Regions from separate parts of the Homo sapiens genome. Here regions 2, 3 and 4 are each linked to region 1. The links are contacts of gene promoters, found by promoter capture Hi-C in blood cells and fetal thymus (Javierre and others, 2016). All regions are on one chromosome and are shown on one strand. The core of a region is centred on a gene start or on the middle of the fragment in contact, and the rest is flanking DNA. Distances in the headings are between cores, read along the strand shown. Region 1 holds the start of NIPSNAP1 (nipsnap homolog 1). Region 2 overlaps MTMR3 (myotubularin related protein 3). Region 3 overlaps MTMR3 (myotubularin related protein 3). Region 4 overlaps HORMAD2-AS1 (HORMAD2 and MTMR3 antisense RNA 1).

Region 1 (2,826 bases), core at 121-2,620:
TGCCTCAGCCTCCCGAGTAACTGGGATTACAGGTGCCCGCCACCATGCCTGGCTAATTTTTTTGTATTTTTAGTAGAGACGGGGTTTCACCCTGTTGGCCAGGCTGGTCTTGAACTCTTGACCTAAACTTCTGATCCACCTTTGCCTCCCAAAATGCTGGGATTACAGGCATGAGCCACCATGCCCGGCAGCAAATTTATAGTTCAACTTTGAAACAAAGATAACAGCCCTCTCCCAAAATAAACCCCTTTCTTGCCTGGGGACCAGACTGCTTTTGTAAGACTAACAAATTAGCCACGAGATTAGAAATTACGGTTTAGGAGTCATGCAGGTAGTGGCCACAGATTCTAAACCTCCCCAGTTGCTCCTAGGGATAACATCACTACTGTAAAACCTAAGATTGGTGCTCAAGATATTTTTCCGATCCTGCACTCAATGGATCCGCTGGCGATACACAGATTAAGAAACCGGATCATCCGGTTTTGTGGCCCCCACCCAGAGATCCACTCAGCACAAGAGGACGGCTTCCACTCCCTATGATTGCATCTCCGACCTGACCAATCAGCACTCTCCACTCTCTGGCCCCTACCCACCAAATTATCCTTAATAAAACCCAGTCTCCGAATTTTCAGGGAGACTGATTTGAGTAATAATAAAACTCCGGTCTCCCATTCAGCCGGCTCTGCATGAATTAAACTCTTATTGCAATTCCTCTGTCTTGATAAATCCGCTGTCTGGGAAACGGGCAAAATGAACCCATGGGGTGGTTACACTGACCCTCTGCTGCACATCCCGGACAGCCTTGTTAAGAACCCTTGGTAGGCTGGGCATGGTGGCTCACGCCTGTAATCCCAGCACTTTGGGAGCACGAGGCAGGCAGATCACGAGGTCAGGAGATCGAGACCATCCTGGCTAACACGGTGAAACCCCGTTTCTACTAAAAATACAAAAAATTAGCTGGGCGTGGTGGCAGACGCCTGTAGTTCCAGCTACTCGGGAGGCTGAGGCAGGAGAATGGCGTGAACCCAGGAGGCGGAGCTTGCAGTGGGCCGAGATCGCGCCACTGCGCTCCAGCCTGGGCGACAGAGCGAGACTCCGTCTCAAAAAAAAAAAAAAAAAAAAAAAGAACCCTTGGTATTATTGTTCCACGCTCCCATTTTACCGAGGTGGATCCTGAGGCCCAGAGTGGGCAAAGGGCTTGCCAAGGTCGCAGAGCGCGCAGAGGATTAGAACCCTGACTTCCGTCCAGCACCTGCGGAGTTGGAGACGCCCACAGGAAACGCCCACCTGACCGGGTGAGTGAGGGGGCGGGCGAGCCGGAGGGGTGGAGTTTATTCGCGCCCCGCCTCCGCCACCAGGGCTTGGGGGCGGGGCCTTCCTGCAACCTTTGCGGCTCCAACATGGCTCCGCGGCTGTGCAGCATCTCTGTGACGGCGCGGCGGCTGCTGGGGGGCCCGGGGCCTCGCGCTGGGGACGTTGCGTCTGCAGCTGCGGCGCGGTGAGAGCCCGGCCAGGCAGGGATAGACGCGCGCGGGGTGGGGTGCAGGCGCGGGGGCCAGGGACTGGGTCGTGGGGGAGGGGCTGAGACTCCTCGCTTGGAATCTGGGGGTTAGAGGCGGGGCAGGATCAAGGCCTAGGGAGGGGTCTGGGCAAAGAATGGGGGAGGTGAGAAAGGGATGGGTAGGGTCTTTGTCCTGGTTGGGACCGGGCTGTGATGGGGACCTGATGAAAGATGGTGAGAAGGGCAGGTACTGGGCCCTGGAGAGTGGGAGAGGGCAGAAGACAGGAGGAGTGGCCCATTCCCAGGCGTAGCTTGTGATTTAACACCCACTGGGGGCTTCTGGTAGTCAGCTCCTCCGTCGGGAAGTTCTGTGGGAAAGAGATGATGGCAGGGGAGCAGTGGGGGATCCCCAGGGGCCATGGCTGCACAGACCCTTTGTTCCTCCACCTCGAACTGTACAGGTGGGGAAACGGACCTGAGAGGGAATGGGAGTTGTCCAAGGTCACCCTCCCTGCTGTGCCGTGGCAGCACCAGGTCTGGGACCCAGGCCTGCCAATGCGCCATGCACTTTGCACCCAACTGGTGGCCTCCTGGGAGTGGGAGTCTGGCTGGGCCATGTGCTCTCAGCCTGGGCTTTTGTTTGGGCCCTGCTCTGGGCTGAGCTAGGGCTTGGCCTCCCTGACTGGCCCTGGGCAGCCCCTCACTCCTTGGTCCCCACAGCCCTGTACTTCCCCCATCTCTGCATATATGACCCTGCACAGTTATGACTTGGTGCTTGTCTGTCTCTCTCACTAGACCATGATCTCATTTTTCTCTGTTTCCCCAGCCTCCCACCCTCAGAGGGCTCAGGACTGTGTATGGTCAAGGAATATTTACCAAAGAAGTGAGGCCACCTGTTCCCCCTCCCCCAACCTGTGAAAAGGAAGCAACCATCCCTCCTGCCCTGCAGCCCAGGAATGAAGCTGCAAAGTTCTGATAGTGCCTGCCATGAGATGTTACAGCACAGAGCAGTGGGGCTTTTGGACAGCTGGGAAAGAGGAGTGGCATAAGCGCCCCACCTAGACTGCCCAATAATTAGGGATAAAGCTGACACCGTGGGAAAAGCCTAGAGTTTGCCTGGCACTAACAGATCTAACTCAGACTTTGTAGGTGGGGTGACCTCAGGACTCTTTAAGCCTCGGGTTCCTCATCTGTAAAATGGGAGTAATCAGGATGTATCTCATAGGGTTGTTGAGGATTAAAGATGCTGTGGTTGGTCGGGTATGGTGGCTCATGCCTGTAATCCCAGCACTTTGGGAGGCCGAGGCAGGCAGATCACTTGAGGT
Region 2 (3,028 bases), core at 289-2,788, 440 kb before region 1:
GCAAAGTAGCACTGGTGTTTCTTGATATTACAGTATTTTAAATTAATGTATTATCTATCAGTCTGAATTTAATAAAGCTAATTCTCAAGTGACAAAGCCAAATTTTCTTTTCTTTTTTTTTTTTCCTGAGACAGGTCTTGCCCTGTCATCCAGGCTGGAGTGCAATGGATCTTGGATCACTGCAACCTCCACCTTCCAGGCTCAAGTGATCCTCCTGCCTCAACCTCCCAAGTAGCTGGGACTACAGGTATGTGCCACCACGCTTGGTTAGTTTTTGCATTTTGGGTAGAAACAGAGTTTCAACACATTGCCCAGGCTGGTCTGGAACTCCTGGGCTCAAGCGATCCTCCCACCTTGGCCTCCCAAAGTGCTGGGATTACAGGCATGAGCCACCAAGCCTGGCCCCAAAGCAAAATTTTCTGTCATCTGACAGCATCTGCCTTTTAAGCCTCAGAAGACAAATCATGGCAAATAGGCAGGAGCACAGAGCACTGGGGAAAACACAAACCAGGGGGTCACAGAAAAACTGGAGGATTTGCTCTATCACTGAGGAGCGGCTCAGTGTATGCAAAACAACATGAAGCAACAGGGCCTAACTCACTCCCAGAAACAAGGATCTTACAGCCTCGTAGCTCAGAAATCCCTATAACTTCCCTGAAAAAACTGCAGAGACCTAAGAAAGATACTGTGGAGCCAGATACCATCATGATCTCTGACCATCCCTGCACACGTCCCAACACAGGAATACACCCACACAGGCTGTCAGGCCTGTGGCATCACCCTGGGCTCACCGGCTCAGGGGGGGATCATCAGGGCTGGTGCCTGGGGCTGGGTATGGTGCACAGCTGTCGTCCACAGGGGTGGTTGGGGATGGGCAGGGCAGGTACACTGCACTCCACAGCATCAGGTTACGCACATGGCACACAGGGTACAGCACCTGAGGAGGGGGGAGGACACAGGTTTAAATATGCCCCAATAAGTCTTCTAGGATGTCTGGAAATGAGGATCAAGAGCAAGCACCCAGCTGGAATACCCAACAGGGCTGACAGGATCTCCACAAAGAAGCAGCACCAATGGATACAGGTCTATCCCAAGAGGACCAATACAGGACTAGACATTTTATATAGCCAACATTTTTCACCTAAGAGCCACTTGAGAGCATGAAAATATAAAATATTTTTTAGATCCCTTTCTCATTATAGTTATTTCTTAGGTCACCTTCAATGTCTGACTTTCATCAGCTTGATTTGTTGCTTTTACTGCCTAAGAAAGTGAGTCATTCTGTTAGATGGTGATTGTCCATCCTGCTGGCACAAAAGCTTGGCTTCAAGAAACACTGTCAAACCCATTTTATGGGATCATTTAAATTAATCATGTGAAAAGAAGGAAATTTTCCTGCTGTATTGTTACTTCCCCAGAAGGCACACTGAAGGGGAGAGACAAGCAGTCAGCTTAAATCTTTTCTGTGATTACTTAAATGTAATGAGAACCATATTAATAGTCCAGGAAATCAGTATGAACTCTGATTAGCCTCCTTTTGACTTCTTTAGGGTCTAAGATGCATTCTGACAAAGCTAGTATTACTATGAAACTGACACATAGGTCTATGTGCCTCCTTTTCTCTGCTTAACAGAAGGTATTCATTCCTTCGGGGAACAAAGTCTTAAAGGGCCTGCCAGCTCTTCATGTGAGCAGAGAATCAGACAGACACACATACCAATGTCAAACACAGTTTACTGTTCTGAGACAGAAGCTTTGGTGGGTATCATTGCTTATTGACACTGGGAGGGTGCTGGGGGCCTGGTGGCAGCTCATTCTGAGCTATCAGTGCATCAGGAAGCAACTTAAGTGCCTCTCCCGTAAGACAGAATATGCTAGAAATAAGCTCTGGAGGCAGTGCCAAAAAAGATTCATGTCTAGGGTGGCAAAGTAGAGATCTGTGTTAAACCAAACCACCCTCAGCAAGTAGTCATCAGAAACAGATCAGAGCACCATCAGAAGCAGGCCTTCCTCAGGACAGAATCATGGGGGAAAAATGGAACCAGTCCATCCAGAGACAGTAGAGATGTCTTCACAAAAACAGTCACTACTCAAAAAGGCTCTCATATGTAACCAACCCCAAATTCCTTCTGCTGACCACAGTGGAAAGGCTGAAGGATACATACGGCTTCTGACTGAGAGGAATACAGTAGGTTTTTGAAAGCCTTGTTGCCTGCCCGAAGAAGTGACCACACGGAACATGTCCGTTCCTGAGTATGCTTTTCCCCTCTCTCCTTGGCGTTGTTGCACAGGAATGTTCCAAACAGGCAGGAATAGGTATGCTGCACCAGTTTCACCTATGGAAGTCCAATGAAGCACAAATTAAGCAATCAGGCATGCACACTCTGATAAGTCAGCTCAGCTGAGCCACCTTATCCTAACATCCCTGAGAACACTTCAATTTACTCTGTCAGGACGGGGAACCCAGTAAGCCATGCAGTAGCCTCCTCCTCCTCACACCACCAATTCCAGGACCCAACAACCTGAGTCAGACAGGTTGTTGGTGCCCCTATTCCTCTTAGCTTCCGTGATAAATAGTCTGAGATTGTGAATTAACAGCCACTCTCACAAGCGCCACAGCATATGAACTGGGTGCAGGAGCACGTCAGTGTACAACTCAAGTCTGAGCTGACAGTATGTTTGTAAAACTACTTGTTCATTCTACAAATTATTGAGCATTTCACATGGCCCAAACATGACTAAGGTGCTGGGCATGTAGCAATGACCAGCAAATTCTTCTGCCCTGATGGAGCTTGCTCTAGTCATAGCTGAAGAGTGACCAGTGCTATGGAGAACAAGGCAGACTGAGATGGACAGGACACATATGAGGCAGTGCAGGATGGCCTCACTGGCTGGGACCCAGTGGACTTGAAAGAGCAGGCATGTGGGTATCTGAGGGGAAGCACTCCAGGCAGAGGCAACCACAGGTGCAATGGCTTTGAGGTAAAGCACATGCTTGCAATTTCTGAGCTACAGCAAGGAGGCCAGT
Region 3 (2,934 bases), core at 190-2,689, 410 kb before region 1:
CCATAATTAAAAGACTAGACTGAGGTACCTCTCAGGAATATCCTAAGAGTTTGCTGAAATCTAAAAGAAACTCAAATTATCAAGGGACTAAAAAAGCTCTCCTAAAAAGATAAGGACTTTTCAGTCTGTGGTTGTGAGAGAACAGGATAGGAGAAAGCAAATCTTGCTGAGTAAATGCTGGCAACCCAAAATTAGGGAATACCTCTTGGAGTCAGGGGTCTTGGAGTCAGGGGTCTTAAACAAATTAAAGTTCTTATATAACATAATGCAGTAGGATGCACTCATTAAGTTCATTATCCTAGGAGATGGTAGAAACTAAAAATTTAATAAAGAAGATGCAATGGTTAAAAACTCAGAAACTGTACATGTAAGATTTGTACACATCACTGTTTGTAAACTTTCTCTTTAAGAAAAACCCCCAAATTTGAAAAGAGCCATAAAAAATGAAAAAATGTATTTAAAATGTGATGGCATTTCAATAAAGAAAAAAAATAGATGTAACAATCGGAGTGAAGTGAGAGACAGTTTAAGCACATTCTCATAAACTTCCAAGGTTGGTGTGGTCTCTCGTAGGTGACAGGATTCTGCTAGCCTGGACACGCCTGTGAGAAGCTGGGATTCTGAGGCTTTCCCTGAGGCTCCAAGAGGGCAGGTGCTTTTGTTTTTCAAACTCTGTATCCACAGCATCCACCATGGTCAGGTCTGAATAACTGAGAACTGGTTTTAAGTCCTAGTTCTGTCGTCAGTGACTAGCACTGGGACTTGACAACAGGCTTTTTACCTCTGAGCCTCCATTTCTTTGGCTCCCAAAACAGACACCAACCTATCTTGCCTGTTTGACAAGGTCATGAGGATCAAACAAAAGTATTTATCAAAGCATTGTTAAACATAAGATAATGCTAATGCTACAAGCATTTTAATAGAACAAGAATGTGAACCAAAAGCTTCAATTAGTCATGGGGCCAGAGAACAAAGTAACAAAAGCATAGCAAGATTAGCCTCAAATGTTTAAAATGACCCAGGGCAGACTTATAAGATTGAAGATTCAGGATTAAAATTTCAGGTTTCTAGAAAAAAGTCCCAAGAGTAAACTTTACTTGAAGGAGGCTTACAACTTTTCACTGCACAGAAATTTAAGACTTCACTTTGAAACCTGACACACTAAAAGTCAGTGTTGGACCAGCAAAGTTTTATGACCACATAAAGTTTACAAGAAACTACATGCAGAGAAATAACATGGTCAAAGCCATTTCTGACGGAGAATGACAGTGAGGGGGACAAAGACTATAGAGGAGTCAGGAAGCCTGGGTTCCAGAACAGGCTCAGCATCTCTTTTTGGTTTTTTTGGGGGGGAGGGGGTCACATGTTAAAACCTATAATCTAGGCCAGGAGCTGTGGCTCACGCCTATAAATCCAAGCACTCCGGGTGGCCAAGGCGGGCGTATCACCTGAGACCAGCCTGACCAACATGGAGAAACCCCGTCTCTACTAAAAATAAAAAATTAGCCGGGCATGGTGGCGCATGCCTGTAATCCCAGCTACACAGGAGGCTGAGGCAGGGGAATTGCTTGAACCCAAGAGGCGGAGGTTGCAGTGGTCCGAGATTGAGCCATTGCACTCCAGCCTGGGCAACAAGAGCGAAACTCCGTCTCAAAAAAAACAAAAAACAAACCCCACTATCTATTTGTTCTTGATAGGAACCTGGCCTCTCACCAATTAACTCCTATTCAACTTTCAAAGCTGATTCAAAAGCCACTTTAAATGTGAAGTCTTCCCACACATGTATACAAAACTCATGGCTCCTTTCTATCAGGCTTCCATACTATTCATAAAACCTTATTATAGTTGAGCTGTTTTTAGGCCCAATAGATTGTGATGCCTTCTAGTGTTCTTCCCTTCCCCGGAAGGCAGAAAAGATGTTCTATTAAGCTTAAAAGAATGCTGCGCACTTGCTGGGTGCTCCTTAAAATATACACTGATTGATATATGAATGCTTAGGTGTCCCATTTCATGTTAAAAGTACCTCCATCAGTAGCTTGATAAAGCCCCTGGCCATTTGCACATTTCAGAAAGGCGTACCTGGTCTGCACAGGTCTCCATGTTGCTCTTTTTCACTGGCATAGACCTCCATGCACCAAGCATGGTATGCAAATGAGAAGAGATCTTCTATTTTAGCAGGTGGTCGGATTGCGTTGTTCAGTCTCTTCAGCCACTCTTGACACTGCTCAAAGGTTGAAAACTGACACCTTTTGTAAAGCCAAACAAGTATGGATGTAATCAGAAGACAGTTGAAATGAAATGTAAGAAAAGCCATTATTTCAAGAATGCCCACTCGTAGTGAAGTGGGAACTACAACCAAGAAAGCATCTGAGGCAGTCAGTCATTCGCATGCTCATTATCACTTATAAGAAAAACAAATGTTAGCCAATGGAACAAAATGTCCAAAAGGAGGAAGCTGACCATTGGAAAACCTATTTTTTTAGACTAATGAAATCTCTTCTAAGATTAATGACAATTATTACAGAAAAATGGCAGCTATTCTCTTTCATGAGTGGAGTTTCATTCTACTTCTTCCATCGAAGTTTTATGGTTGTCCCTCATAAAAAATATGTTTAGAAAAATCTTTGTTTTGTAGTAACATATTAGATCAAGTTTAAAAAAAAACAGCATTATTTTTAGCCAGTTAGGTAGTAATTTCAATATTTAGCTATTAGGACAAATCAGATCCAAAAGACAGATTGCACTGAAACTTTCAGCTATGACCATGTAGAGAACAAAACAATTCTATTGTCAACTGCGATTTTCAGTATATACAACTAAGAAGTTAAAATAATTAGTGAAAACTAATTTATTAAAGATATGTTTAGGCTGAGTGCAGTGGCTCATGCCTGTAATCCCAGCACTTTGGGAGGCCAAGACGGGCAGATCACTGGA
Region 4 (2,921 bases), core at 188-2,687, 450 kb before region 1:
GACTTAGTTAATAACAATGCATTGTATTCTTGAAAATCTCTAAGAGGGTAGATTTTAAGTGTCTCTCATCACAAAAAAATAAGTATGTGAGGTAACGCATATGTTAATTAGATCGATTTAAACCATTACACAATGTATACATATTTCAAAACATACTGTATATTATATATAATTTTGTCGATTCAAAAAAGATACTTATTTCAATAATAGTTTCATTTTACAAGATTAAATTCGGATCAAACCTTTTTCACTATGTGCTGTATGAAACACTGGTCTCCATTTTCAATGGGTTGCCTCTAAGAGGCTTTTTCAGGTCCTGTTCTTTTTGGATGAGGGTATGAATATATTTATCTGCCTGATCATCTTCCCTAACAGGCAGCATATTCTTGAGAGCAAACAGTGCCTGAGACAGAAGTCCCATGTCATCTCATGGAATGGTAGGGGTGGGGACATGTGTGAGTCACCAGTGAAGCCTGCACAGAGACTTAGCCTTCAATGACTTACTACATGAAGGCGCCACAGAGCATATCCAGAGCTGTCAGAAGCCAAGACTCTCTGTGCATGCATTGGTTAGGGTCCTCAGCAATGAGGGGTGACAGAGTACCGAGGCAGAACAGGGCAGAGGGTTCCTGAACAGACAGCCAGGCCCTTGTTCTCAGCTTGATCTGGGCTTTTCAGGCATCAGCAGGGCCCTCTGAGGGCATGAGGTGCCTTGGAGGGCAGCAGGGTGACCCGGAAGACATGTGACTGGCAAGGGTGTTCTGGTAGGCCCAGGTAAGGAGAGGCAGAGCCCCTCTGCCCTTGCCTAGGGCAGCACACAGAAACCATGCCCAGTGGCTTTGGGTGCTCTAGCTCATTCCTGTCCAACCAGGGTCAAAGCTTCCTACGACGGAGTGTCATAAATAGACTGACGATGGGGCTTCCCCCAGTCCCAGGAAGGGTTGGTGGGGTGTCGGAATTCAATTACAATATGAAAATAAGAGGTGAACTTCCTACTTGGGGTTGAAGGATAGGAGGGCAAACTTGGCATCGGCGTTCACCCCTGCACTAGGTGCTGACTGCATCCTGCAACAGAGGATAAAAGCGAAGAGCAGACGTCGTGGCCTCTCAGTTCAGGGGAAGCCCCGAGGCATCTCTGGCTGACAAGGCTGAGCTCAGTTTTCAGGCCCAGAACTAGTCCCCAGGTTAATGCCATCGAACTGCGTGGGGGTGCAGGTGAAGCATGGCCACATAGACACGTCCAGATGGGGACACCTGATGCTCTCGCAGTCTCCCCAGGTGCCTGAAGGAGGCCTCTAGAGACTTAGAACTGTGGTATATAACAGGCCTCCATTTTCAGCACTTTAATTTCTGCATGTCCAAGGAAGCATGCGTGGAAGGAGGGCAGAGAGCTGAGCCTCAGAGCAGTAATGCCAAGGAAGTAGGTGAGAGGGCTGCCTGCAAAGTCTCACAGGCCAACTACAGAGGCAGAAGAACTGGCAGGAGGGTTAGCAAGGTGGCAGGTTGCAGAATGGTTGCAAGAAAGAATGCTTTGGAGTGGGTCTAGAGTGTGTGGCTAGTCCTTGGGGACACCCAGTGTTGGGGTGGTGGGGGGCAGCAGAAGCAGGAGGAAGAGGAAGGGGTGGTGGAGCAAAGACGATATAGAGCTGGCCACTCTTTCTATTCGTTTCACAGTGAAGGGAAGGAGCAAGACAGGATACTTGCTGGAGGCAGAGACTTGAAAGAATTTGCTCTGACTTGAAAGAATTTGCTTTGCAGGCTGGAGGACTGGACAGCTTTAGGGATAGAGGAAGGAGCCAGCCAAACAAGGTTGAAAGAAAAAGGCTAAGGCCATGGTGGATGTGGGACAAAGCCCTAGACCATCTATTCTGGCTGTCATTTTGTCACTTACTGAACCATTTCTGTTCTCTAACTCCAAAAGTGTGAGAATTTCTGGCAGAAGAATCTACACCACGGTTTACTCTGTAACAGACAACAAAAACAAGTAAAGCTTTGTTGCAGAGTATTTTTAAAAAACAAAACCAAGACAACTCACTAAAGGTGGTGAGTCAGTTACCTCTAGCAAGTGGGAATTTCACTTGTAATTGTGTACACTTTTTTTTTTTCTGGAGACGGTGTCTTGCTCCGTCAACCAGGCTGGAGTGCAGTAACGCGACCTTGGCTCACTGCAACCTCTGCCTCCCAGGTTCAAAAGATTCTCCTGCCTCAGCCTCCCGAGTAGCTGGAACTATAGGCGCGTGCCACCAGGCCCGGCTAAGTTTTTGTAAAGATAGGGTTTCGCCATGTTGGCCAGGCTGGTCTTAAATTCCTGACCTCAAGTGATCCGCCTCCCTTGGCCTCCCAAAGTGCTGGGATTACAGGCGTGAGCCACTGTGCCCGGCATTGTGTATATTTTTATGTTAATGAACAGTATATTTTAAAATGCAAAATACAATTGGAAAATTCTATAGTAGAACCTTTTGTGTAGTGAAAAAAGCCTCCAAAATGCTTCTGTAAATGAAGAGGTTCATGTACTGGGTTGCTCAAAGTCCCCTGCAGTCCCCACTTCTTGGCAGGACAAGGGAGTGCCAGGAGAGCACTTCCTGCAGCACTGCAAGCGCTCAGTTCCTAGGGGCCTGGCCTGTGCCCACTTCAGCAAAAGGAATGGTGTCTTTTTTTTTTTTTTTTTTGAGATGGAGTCTCGCTCTGTCGCCCAGGCTGGAGTGTAGTGGCACAATCTCAGCTCACTGCAACCTCCGCCTCCCAGGTTCAAGCAATTCTCCTGCCTCAGCCTCCTGAGCAGCTGCCATGCCTAGCTACAGCTTTTGTATTTTAGTAGAGATGGAGTTTCACCGTGTTGCCCAGGCTGGTTTCGAACTCCTGAGCTGAGGCAACCCACCCGCCTCGGCCTCCCAAAGTGCTGGGATTACAGGCATGAGCCA

What was found. The method cuts DNA at HindIII sites, captures the fragments that hold promoters and counts their contacts. A CHiCAGO score of 5 or more calls a contact.
Region 2: a fragment that was not itself captured here is called in contact with the fragment with the promoter of NIPSNAP1 in region 1 in 3 of 17 cell types (neutrophils, total CD4 T cells and endothelial precursors); the score reaches 5.5 in neutrophils.
Region 3: a fragment that was not itself captured here is called in contact with the fragment with the promoter of NIPSNAP1 in region 1 in 3 of 17 cell types (non-activated CD4 T cells, total B cells and total CD4 T cells); the score reaches 6.2 in non-activated CD4 T cells.
Region 4: a fragment that was not itself captured here is called in contact with the fragment with the promoter of NIPSNAP1 in region 1 in 1 of 17 cell types (M0 macrophages); the score reaches 5.3 in M0 macrophages.

Annotation. Positions count from the first base shown.
Region 1 is chr22:29,579,657-29,582,482 of GRCh38, reverse strand. NIPSNAP1 (nipsnap homolog 1) reads left to right here and starts at 1,370. Exons shown (of 10, transcript NM_003634.4): 1 at 1,370-1,498. The coding sequence starts at 1,401. RefSeq lists a silencer at 1,564-1,613 and an enhancer at 1,597-2,209. The HindIII fragment of the contact is 18,053 bases long and covers 1-2,826 here.
Region 2 is chr22:30,015,836-30,018,863 of GRCh38, reverse strand. MTMR3 (myotubularin related protein 3) reads right to left here. Exons shown (of 20, transcript NM_021090.4): 15 at 2,166-2,336; 16 at 792-937. It overlaps HORMAD2-AS1 (HORMAD2 and MTMR3 antisense RNA 1), which reads left to right. Exons shown (of 5, transcript NR_110541.2): 4 at 135-247. Among named protein-coding and RNA genes, the nearest start is that of MIR6818, 10 kb to the right of the region's middle. The HindIII fragment of the contact is 434 bases long and covers 1,322-1,755 here.
Region 3 is chr22:29,990,816-29,993,749 of GRCh38, reverse strand. It overlaps MTMR3 (myotubularin related protein 3), which reads right to left. Exons shown (of 20, transcript NM_021090.4): 7 at 2,080-2,246. Among named protein-coding and RNA genes, the nearest start is that of MIR6818, 15 kb to the left of the region's middle. The HindIII fragment of the contact is 985 bases long and covers 947-1,931 here.
Region 4 is chr22:30,034,384-30,037,304 of GRCh38, reverse strand. All of the region lies in intron 3 of HORMAD2-AS1 (HORMAD2 and MTMR3 antisense RNA 1), which reads left to right. Among named protein-coding and RNA genes, the nearest start is that of MIR6818, 29 kb to the right of the region's middle. The HindIII fragment of the contact is 1,111 bases long and covers 882-1,992 here.